Regions from separate parts of the Homo sapiens genome. Here regions 1 and 3 are each linked to region 2. The links are contacts of gene promoters, found by promoter capture Hi-C in human tissues and cell types (Jung and others, 2019). All regions are on one chromosome and are shown on one strand. Each heading gives the region's core, a stretch centred on a gene start or on the middle of the fragment in contact. The rest is flanking DNA. Distances are from core to core; before and after follow the strand shown. Region 1 holds the start of MIR4657 (microRNA 4657). Region 2 holds the start of RAMP3 (receptor activity modifying protein 3). Region 3 has its middle 9.7 kb from the start of PPIA.

What was found. The method cuts DNA at HindIII sites, captures the fragments that hold promoters and counts their contacts. A contact is called where the count stands out against the background at its distance.
Region 1: a fragment that was not itself captured here is called in contact with the fragment with the promoter of RAMP3 in region 2 in 2 of the 25 tissues and cell types used here (lymphoblastoid cells and mesenchymal stem cells).
Region 3: a contact is called between a fragment that was not itself captured here and the fragment with the promoter of RAMP3 in region 2, in 1 of the 25 tissues and cell types used here (spleen).

What each region holds. Positions count from the first base shown.
Region 1 is chr7:44,879,730-44,882,429 of GRCh38, forward strand. It overlaps PURB (purine rich element binding protein B), which reads right to left. Exons shown (of 1, transcript NM_033224.5): 1 at 1-2,700. It overlaps MIR4657 (microRNA 4657), which reads right to left and starts at 2,071; the gene lies at 2,019-2,071. The HindIII fragment of the contact is 4,835 bases long and covers 1-2,700 here.
Region 2 is chr7:45,156,341-45,159,040 of GRCh38, forward strand. It overlaps RAMP3 (receptor activity modifying protein 3), which reads left to right and starts at 1,451. Exons shown (of 3, transcript NM_005856.3): 1 at 1,451-1,546. The coding sequence starts at 1,489. The HindIII fragment of the contact is 28,590 bases long and covers 1-2,700 here.
Region 3 is chr7:44,805,078-44,807,777 of GRCh38, forward strand. No RefSeq gene overlaps it. Among named protein-coding and RNA genes, the nearest start is that of PPIA, 9.7 kb to the left of the region's middle. The HindIII fragment of the contact is 4,337 bases long and covers 1-2,700 here.

The sequences.
Region 1 (2,700 bases), core at 34-2,533, 280 kb before region 2:
TTAGCAAAGATTTCTACTCTTCTTACACAGAGTTAGAACAATATTCATAAGCAATTATCTAAGGGAGCCTGAGAAACTATGATCCACATCACACAAAGATTTCATGTATTTCATGATCAAAAAGTGCTTTATCTTTGAGAAATGTCAGGGTTACAATGGAAATATACAATGTAAAGTCACTTGATATTTTTTCAAGTGAAGTACAAAGTAGAAAAGGAGCAAAAAGATGGAGGCTCTGCTCTCTGAACAGGCCTTATGCATGTGACTTTTAGGGTGTACGAAATTAAAGTTGTTTTAAGAATTAAAAATAGTGGGACTTTACACCACTATATTCTAAAACCTGAGATTGGACATCAAAACAGTCAACTTTGTTATTCATCAGAGCAATTCTGATACTTCCTAAAAATATAAGATAACTCAACTGAATTAACTCCAGGGTCAAAAACATTAACTTTCCCCAATCAAAAAGGAGACCGATCACTATATACCAAGAGTGCTGCAGAAAGACAAACTCTCAGCAAATGAGTCATTTCTACATAAGCAAAAAAGTCACTTTTCTCCTTCCCTTTCTCACTGATCAAGGCCACACTATTTTCAAATGAATATCTACTGAGAGATCAGTTGTGCATTGGATAAAGTACCATAATTGGGTTAAAAATGAAAACAAAATTTACAGTGAAGAATACTTATGTGCATGGCTTACACACTCCAGCTTCTCAATTTCATCCACCTCAAGAGCAAGATAGATGCAAAGTCACCTTGTGTAGATTACATTCTACACCCCTGTAAAGCCAGTCAAGGTCACATTTAACAAAGCATCTTCAGCAACTACAGTGCCTGAAGTGTGCAGCCGTTTACAGACCACTCAATATGAGGGCATTATTATAACCAGCCTCTTTTGCCCACAACCCTGCATCTTCAGATAAGACAGGATAATTGTTTTGTTTTGAGAAAACTGAAGCTTAAATCTCTTAAAAGACCTGCAATTTACTGCAAAGTAATCCAGAGGTAACAAAGGAAGCAGGAGGTTAACGGCTGCCTGCACCAAAAGCCTCTCAATCATTTTGCAGTAAATAATTATGGAAAGTGATGTGACAAGTAGCCATGTGTGTATCACAGCTACAGTCATTTATACCACGTATATGCCTCCGATAGTTACATAGGGTGTTTGGGTTTTTGGTTTGGTTTTCACTTTGATTTTTGGTGCCATACAGATTTATATTTTGTTCTTGTGCAGCATATGCACTGAAAAACTTGCTGCTGTTCCACTTGCTGAAATGATAGGGACAATAGAAACCAAAACCAAAACATAGAAGGAAGAGTAGTAGGATCTCTTCACAGATTTTTATTCTTTTGATTCTGTTCCTAAAATTTGGCTTTTCACCTTTGTAACTATGGTAGTTTGGGAAACAAACCTTCTAACAATTATATGAAAAGAAGTTTTAGTTTCCTACTTCTCAGGAATATGACTATTTTGATTAGCTGGGATGTTTGCCAAGCTTAAAAAAAAAGGCTCAAAATCATTCATAGCAACAACTGAAAAACAAAAAAATTGGTTGTTTCCCATGTCTGTACAATGCCATTATCTGACTGGAATTAACAAAGACCATTTCCTTTAATAAGCTATTAATAATATTTACGAATGAATCTGTGTTTTGCAGGTTTCTATTGTCCCTAGTGACTGGAGTGAAGATCAGTGAAATGCTACAATTAATCCACAGCCTTCTGCAATCTTCCTGCAGTGGGAAGAGAGGCCATGAACCATCCCTTGCAGGAGAAACAAACCTTAGAGATTGGTTAAGACTTAAAAACCCACCACTATGACATTACCACTTAATCTTACATAGGCAGGTCAAAATTTTAATATAAATTACTTTTGCCAACACATAGCTTATGCATTCTTTGCTCCTTTTTTTGGAGGATTTTCAAATTGATATCTAAAGATTTACATATGATATATTACTGTTACATGGTCTAATGACTAAGAAAATTTCTCTGGTAACCAAAGCTGATGCCATATATGGTAGTGTTCTTGGCATATACTCTATATGCCTCAGACCACTTCCACATTCTTTCTATTCAGCTAATTATAGCTTAGTAGCCACTGGTGAAGGATTGTGAAGACCCTGTCATTTCTACAGAATAGAAAGGCAAGGCTAGTTACTGCAATTCAGCCAAACAAAAAGAAAAAAGAATAAACCAACCCCTTAAAAAGGAGAGGTACTGCACCTTTGCAAAATTGAACTGGCTCACTGCAGCTGAGCAACAGAACCACCACTGAAGCAAGAAAACAAGTTGGTCTATACAAGAATTGTACATGGTTTGAAAATGAAAAAGTTACAGCAATCAACTAATAGCTGCAACTTAAATTTTCATTGCTGCCTCAGAGTTGAAACTTAAATAGTTTCTGCAAACCTAATGCTAGCTTCTCAGCTCCTTTACTAAAACTATTTAGGAATTTGTTCTCCGCAGCAAAGAAATAGACACTCAAAACACGTAGGTAAATACAGCAGGACATTATTGAAAAACAGCTGCCTTGTAGTACAAAATACAGTACAAGTATACGGATGTCATTAAAACATCAAAAATACTATTGCTCCCATACAATTTAGGAAACATTCTTTGCAACGGAGAAAAATTTAAAAGAAAAGCTTTAAAAAAATCTGTTTAAAAATTCTACTGTGGATGATGAGAGTAGAG
Region 2 (2,700 bases), core at 201-2,700:
CTCAGGCAGAAGGCAGGACAAATGATCAATTTTAATTAGTTTTGACTCCTTTGAATTAATTCTGGCTGTAATCAGAATTTCTTCAGTAAAAAAGCACAGAAAGTTCTTCTCCCGAATAAGGGTCTTGTTAAATAAAGTGGGTCTTTCTAAGCCAGGAGAAGTTCAGCTCAGCTCCTGGGAAGGTAGCAGTACCTACGGCTCAGAGGAGTGGAGGGCCCATCCATGTAGGAGCCTGGGCCTGTGCCCCAACCTCAGACCAGCATGTGCCCCCAGGGGTGGTGGGTGGGCCCTGGAGGGCAGAGAGGTGCCTCTAGCTGGCTCTCGGAAGTCCTGACCAGTGACAATTCTTAAGACACCATTAAGTGTCCACTGGAGCCAGGGCCTGTGCTAGGGGCTGAGGGTGACAGAGGTGACCCATCTGGCCAAGTGACCTGTGGCTGGAGAAACTGAGGCCCTCCTTCGCCTCAGGGACCCTGACACTCTTCAAGGCCAGGTCTTTGGTGGTGCCAGATACTCTCCTGTCCCTTGGTTTGCTTGTGGCTTGGTTCTTGGTGTGTGATACGTCTCTGTGTGTGTAGTTGCCACACCCTCCAGTCTCTCTCATACACACTGTTTCCCAAGCATACACTCACAAACACACCTTGTCTCAGACTCAAACACACACATGCCACACACACACCATACATCACACACTCCATGCACACACATGCATCTACACACACCCCACATGCACATCACACACACGTACTCCATGAACAACACACACACGCACACACACAGACGCACACACACACACCCCCCAACCTCTTTTATGCACTTTCCTGACCTTTGGAGACCTGGCTCCTAGATGTATCTCTGCTCAAAGTTCCCCTCCCTGCCTGGGGGCAGCTCTGGACTCTGGTCTACTTTCGGCCAGGGCACACCTAGCCCACTCCCAGGTCCACCTTCCTCCAGTCTACCCCCAGACTCCTCTAGGCCATCATCAGCCAGCGCTTCATCCTCACCTCAGCTCCCTCCCCGGTCTACCCCCACCCTCTGCCCCTGAGCCTGGACGGAAGTTCCCCAAGTCTCTCCAGCCTGCATCCCAGCCCACCGTCAGCCGGCCCCCACGCTCACCCCAGCTCACCTCCCAGTCTGCCCCTACAATCTGCTCCCAAAAAGCTCCTTTGCAGCTCAGCACCCCAGCCCCGCCCTCAGAGCCCATCAGCCGGCACCCCACCTTACCCCAGCTTGTCCCCAGCTCGAAACCCTGCCCTCGCCCCCCTCTCACCCCGCTGAGACTCCAGCCGCCCCCATCCCTCCCACCCGGCGCGCCTGCAGGGACTGCACCCCACATCTGGAGGCAACGGGGCACGGCCGCAGGCGTGGTCTGGGGGTGCGGCCTGAGGGCGGACCCCCTGAGGCCCCGCCCCACCCCAACCCCAACCGGGCGTCCCCCAGCCGCGCCCCCAGCGGGACCGAGCGTGACCCAGCTGCGGCCGGCCAGCCATGGAGACTGGAGCGCTGCGGCGCCCGCAACTTCTCCCGTTGCTGCTGCTGCTCTGCGGTAAGGGGGCGACGGCCCGCACCGGGGGCGCCCCCACTCCTCGGGGTTCACCGGACCCGGGTGGACCCGCGCCTTCCCGCACCTGCGCCGCGGTCCTTCCCTTGCCCCGGAGCTCGGGAGGGGCGCACAGTGACCCTGGCGGGATTCCCAGGCTCTGCGGGAGGGTTCCACCCGGGAGAAGCTGAAGGCGAAGGACTCTGGCGGGCAAGGGAGGCACAGGGCCCCCTCCGGGGTCTTCTGACGGCAGGGTCCGGCAGCCCCCGGTCCTTCTAGTTGTGATGTCCCCCCACGCCCCGGTTCTGGGGTCGCCTCAGGGTGGGCGAGAAGAGGTGGACCAGGTCTGGCTCTTTACCCCTTATCCCCCAGGGTGGGCTGTCTGTAAGGTAGTGAGCTCTCTGTCCTGGCATTGAGTGCCTGCCCACCACTCACAGGGGCGTGGGCGGGTGGACTCCGGACTGGGTAGCTGGTCCTCCCAGGGCCCCTCAGTGTGTGGACGCCTGTGTGTGTCCTGGAACTGGCTGAGAGGGGAAGCGGGGCGACTCTCTGAGCCATCCTCTCCTAATGCCTTCTTCGGCAAGAAATCAGGACTCTAGGAAGAACCATTGCTCACAAAATGGAAATAGATTAAACTAAAAGCTTGTTTTGAAGTACCTTGCTAAAGAAATTATCCAAGAAAAAGTAAGAGAGAGAGAGAGAGAGAGAATGTGTGTAAAGGCTGTTGGGGAAGAGTGCTTGCTGAGGGCTGGGGTCCACTGAGTGGTGACTGAGCCTGGCCAGTTCTGGGGGGGACATTGGTGATGGAGGGCCCTGGCCTGGTGGTCCCCAGTTTCCCTGGCTGTAAGATGCAGAGTTGGGCCTGTTTTGATGATTTGGGATTTGGTACGGGAGGTGGGAAAAGGGTGGACCAAACTCAGTGGTCATTTTCCTTCCATTGAAGAGGTCTTGGTGTGCAGAACTTGTGTGGCTTCATTTGGTGTTCCAGGGCTGGAGCCTAGGATGTGGTGGATTTTGTGTTGAAGTGCAAAGGTGGATGGCAGCTTCTGAAATCAGGAGCATGCTGATTTGGGATTTCAGCAAACTTCCAGTGAGCGCCCCTTAGGTGGAGATCTTGGTCGCTATAGTGGAAGGAAGGTCCTCTCAATTCATTCTGGGAG
Region 3 (2,700 bases), core at 180-2,679, 350 kb before region 2:
GCTACTGCGGACGTGGACATTGCAGTGAGCCGAGACCGCACCATTGCACTCCAGCCTGGGCAAAAGAGCAAAATGCTGTCTCAAAAAAAAAAGAAAAAGGAAAGTGAGTCAGATGCCAAGCTGGTATTGCGGCATCAGCTTGTGTAGTAAGATTTGACCTGGTCAGAAAGGTCTCAAATGGCTACCCTGAGAAAGAAGTGGAGCTTGGAAGAAAGGTAACCAGGAAAACCCATCATTTTTCTGCTGGTTGGAGGCTCTCATGGAAACCCTTAGGAAACTTACAAGCTGAGAGGCGGGAGTTTGCCTAGACCACACTGTGAGTTTGCTGTATATATCCACGCCTTACACAGTGAATAAGAAGATACTCAGGGCCGGGCACAGTGGCTCAGACCTGTAATCCCAGCACTTTGGGAGGCTGAGGCGGGTGGATCACCTGAGTCCAGGAATTCGAGACCAGCCTGACCAACATGGTGAAACTCCGTCTCTACTAAAAATACAAAAATTAGCCAGGCATGGTGGCATGCGCCTGTAATCCCAGCTACTTAGGAGGCTTGAGGCAGGAGAATCGCTTGAACCTGGGAGGTGGAAGTTGCAGTGAGCCGAAATTGGCCCCATTGCACTCCAGCCCGGATGACAGAGACTCCGTCTCAAACAAAAAAAAAGATACTTGCCCCAGCGTGGTGGCTCACGCCTGTAATCCTAACGCTTTGGAAAGCTGAGGCAGGCAGATCACCTGAGATCAGGAGTTTGAGACCACCCTGGACAACATGGTGAAACCCCGTCTCTACTAAAAATACAAAAATTAGCTGGGCGTGGTGGCACGCCCCTGTAATCCCAGCTACTTGGGAGGCAGAGGCACCAGAATCACTTGAACCCGGGAGGCAGAGGTTGCAGTGAGCGGAGATTGTGCCACTGCACTCCAGACTTGGGTGACAGAGCAAGACTCCAGCTCAAAAAAAAAAACCAAAAAACTAAAAACTCTGCTTCTCAGAGTTGTGGGGATTAGATATGAAGTACTTAGAAGAGTGGTTAGCACATGGTACATGCATGAACAGTTCTGTTAGTGTGTAAACACCCAGCAGGGATTTGTCTAGCTTTTCACCAGTGTATCCCAGTACCTAGGCTAAAGCTTGGTTCAGAGAAGGCTCAGAAGAAATATCACAGTAACTGTGTGATAGACCCCTTCTGATCCCTTTACAAATATTCTAGGCTGGGCATGGTGGCTCACGCCCGTAATCCCAGCACCCAGGAGGCCAATGCAGGCAGATCGCTTGAACCCAGGTGTTCAAGACCAGCCTGTGCAACATGGTGAAACTCTGTCTATATTAAAAACAGAAAAATTACCCAGGCGGCCGGGCATGGTGGCTCATGCCTGTAATCCCAGAACTTTGGGAGGCCAAGGCGGGTGAATCACGAGGTCAGGAGTGCGAGACCAGCCTTGCCAACATGATGAAACCCAATTTATAGAGGTGGGGATAAGGGACCATCTTTAAGAGTTGCCTACCACAAGTCTATAAAATACAGTTTAAAGACCAGAAATAAAAAGAACCCCAGCATATCTACTAGTATCCCAGAAATGCCCTTTGCAAGCCCTCTTCAGTTGCACGCTCTTTCCTCTTCAGAGGGAACCATGATTCCAATTTTTTTTTTTTTTTTTGAGATGAAGTTTTGCTCTTGTTGCCCAGGCTGGAGTGCAATGATGCAATCTCGGCTCACCGCAACCCTCCGCCTCCCAGGTTCAAGCGATTCTCCTGCCTCAGCCTCCCGAGTAGTTGGGATTACAGGCATGTGCCACCATGCCCGGCTAATTTTGTATTTTTAGTAGAGACTGGGTTTCTCCATGTTGGTCAGGCTGGTCTCGAACTCCCTACCTCAGGTGATCCTCCTGCCTCGGCCTCCAAAAGTGCTGGGATTACAGGCGTGCTCAGCCCATGATTCCAATTTTTGTGTTCATCAATCTCTAGCACCTGTGTCCCTAAAAACATATTGAGAAAAAGTGAGAAGCAAGCACAAACCTAATTGTGCAAAGAAAGGTCGAAATTGCCACTATTATGAGGCAGGCTCCCAGGAGAAGGCAAGTTGAGCAGGCTGGGTTAGAGTGTGGCCTCAGGGTCTTTGAGAACACAAGAACTATTTCTGGGAAAGTCAGCCAATGCCTTTCTCCACCTCAGAAAATCTGTAAAATCTATAATATCTGGTTCACAGTCAGATGTTCCCCCTTGTTCTTATAATGTGTTTTTATGTTTATTGCTTTTTAAAATTCTTTTTCAGTCCAGGTACGGTGGCTCATGCCTGTAATCTCAGCACTTTGGGAGGCCGAGGTGGGCAGATCACTTGAGGTCAGGAGTTCGAGACCAACCTGGCCAACATGGTGAAATTCCATCTCTACTCAAAATACAAAATTAGCCAGGCATGGTGGTGCATGTCTGTAATCCCAGCTACTCAGGAGGCCGAGGCAGGAAAATCGCTTGAACCTGGGAGATGAAGGCTGCAGTGAGCCAAGATCGTACCATTGCACCCCAGCCTGGGCAACAGAGCGAGACTCTGTCTCAAAATAAATAAATAAATAAAATTCTATTTCAGGGTTAATAGGTGCAGCAAACCACCATGGCACACATATACCTATGTAACAAACCCGCATGTTCTACACATGTATTCCATATTTTTATTATTTTTTTTTTGAGATAGAGTTTCGCTCTT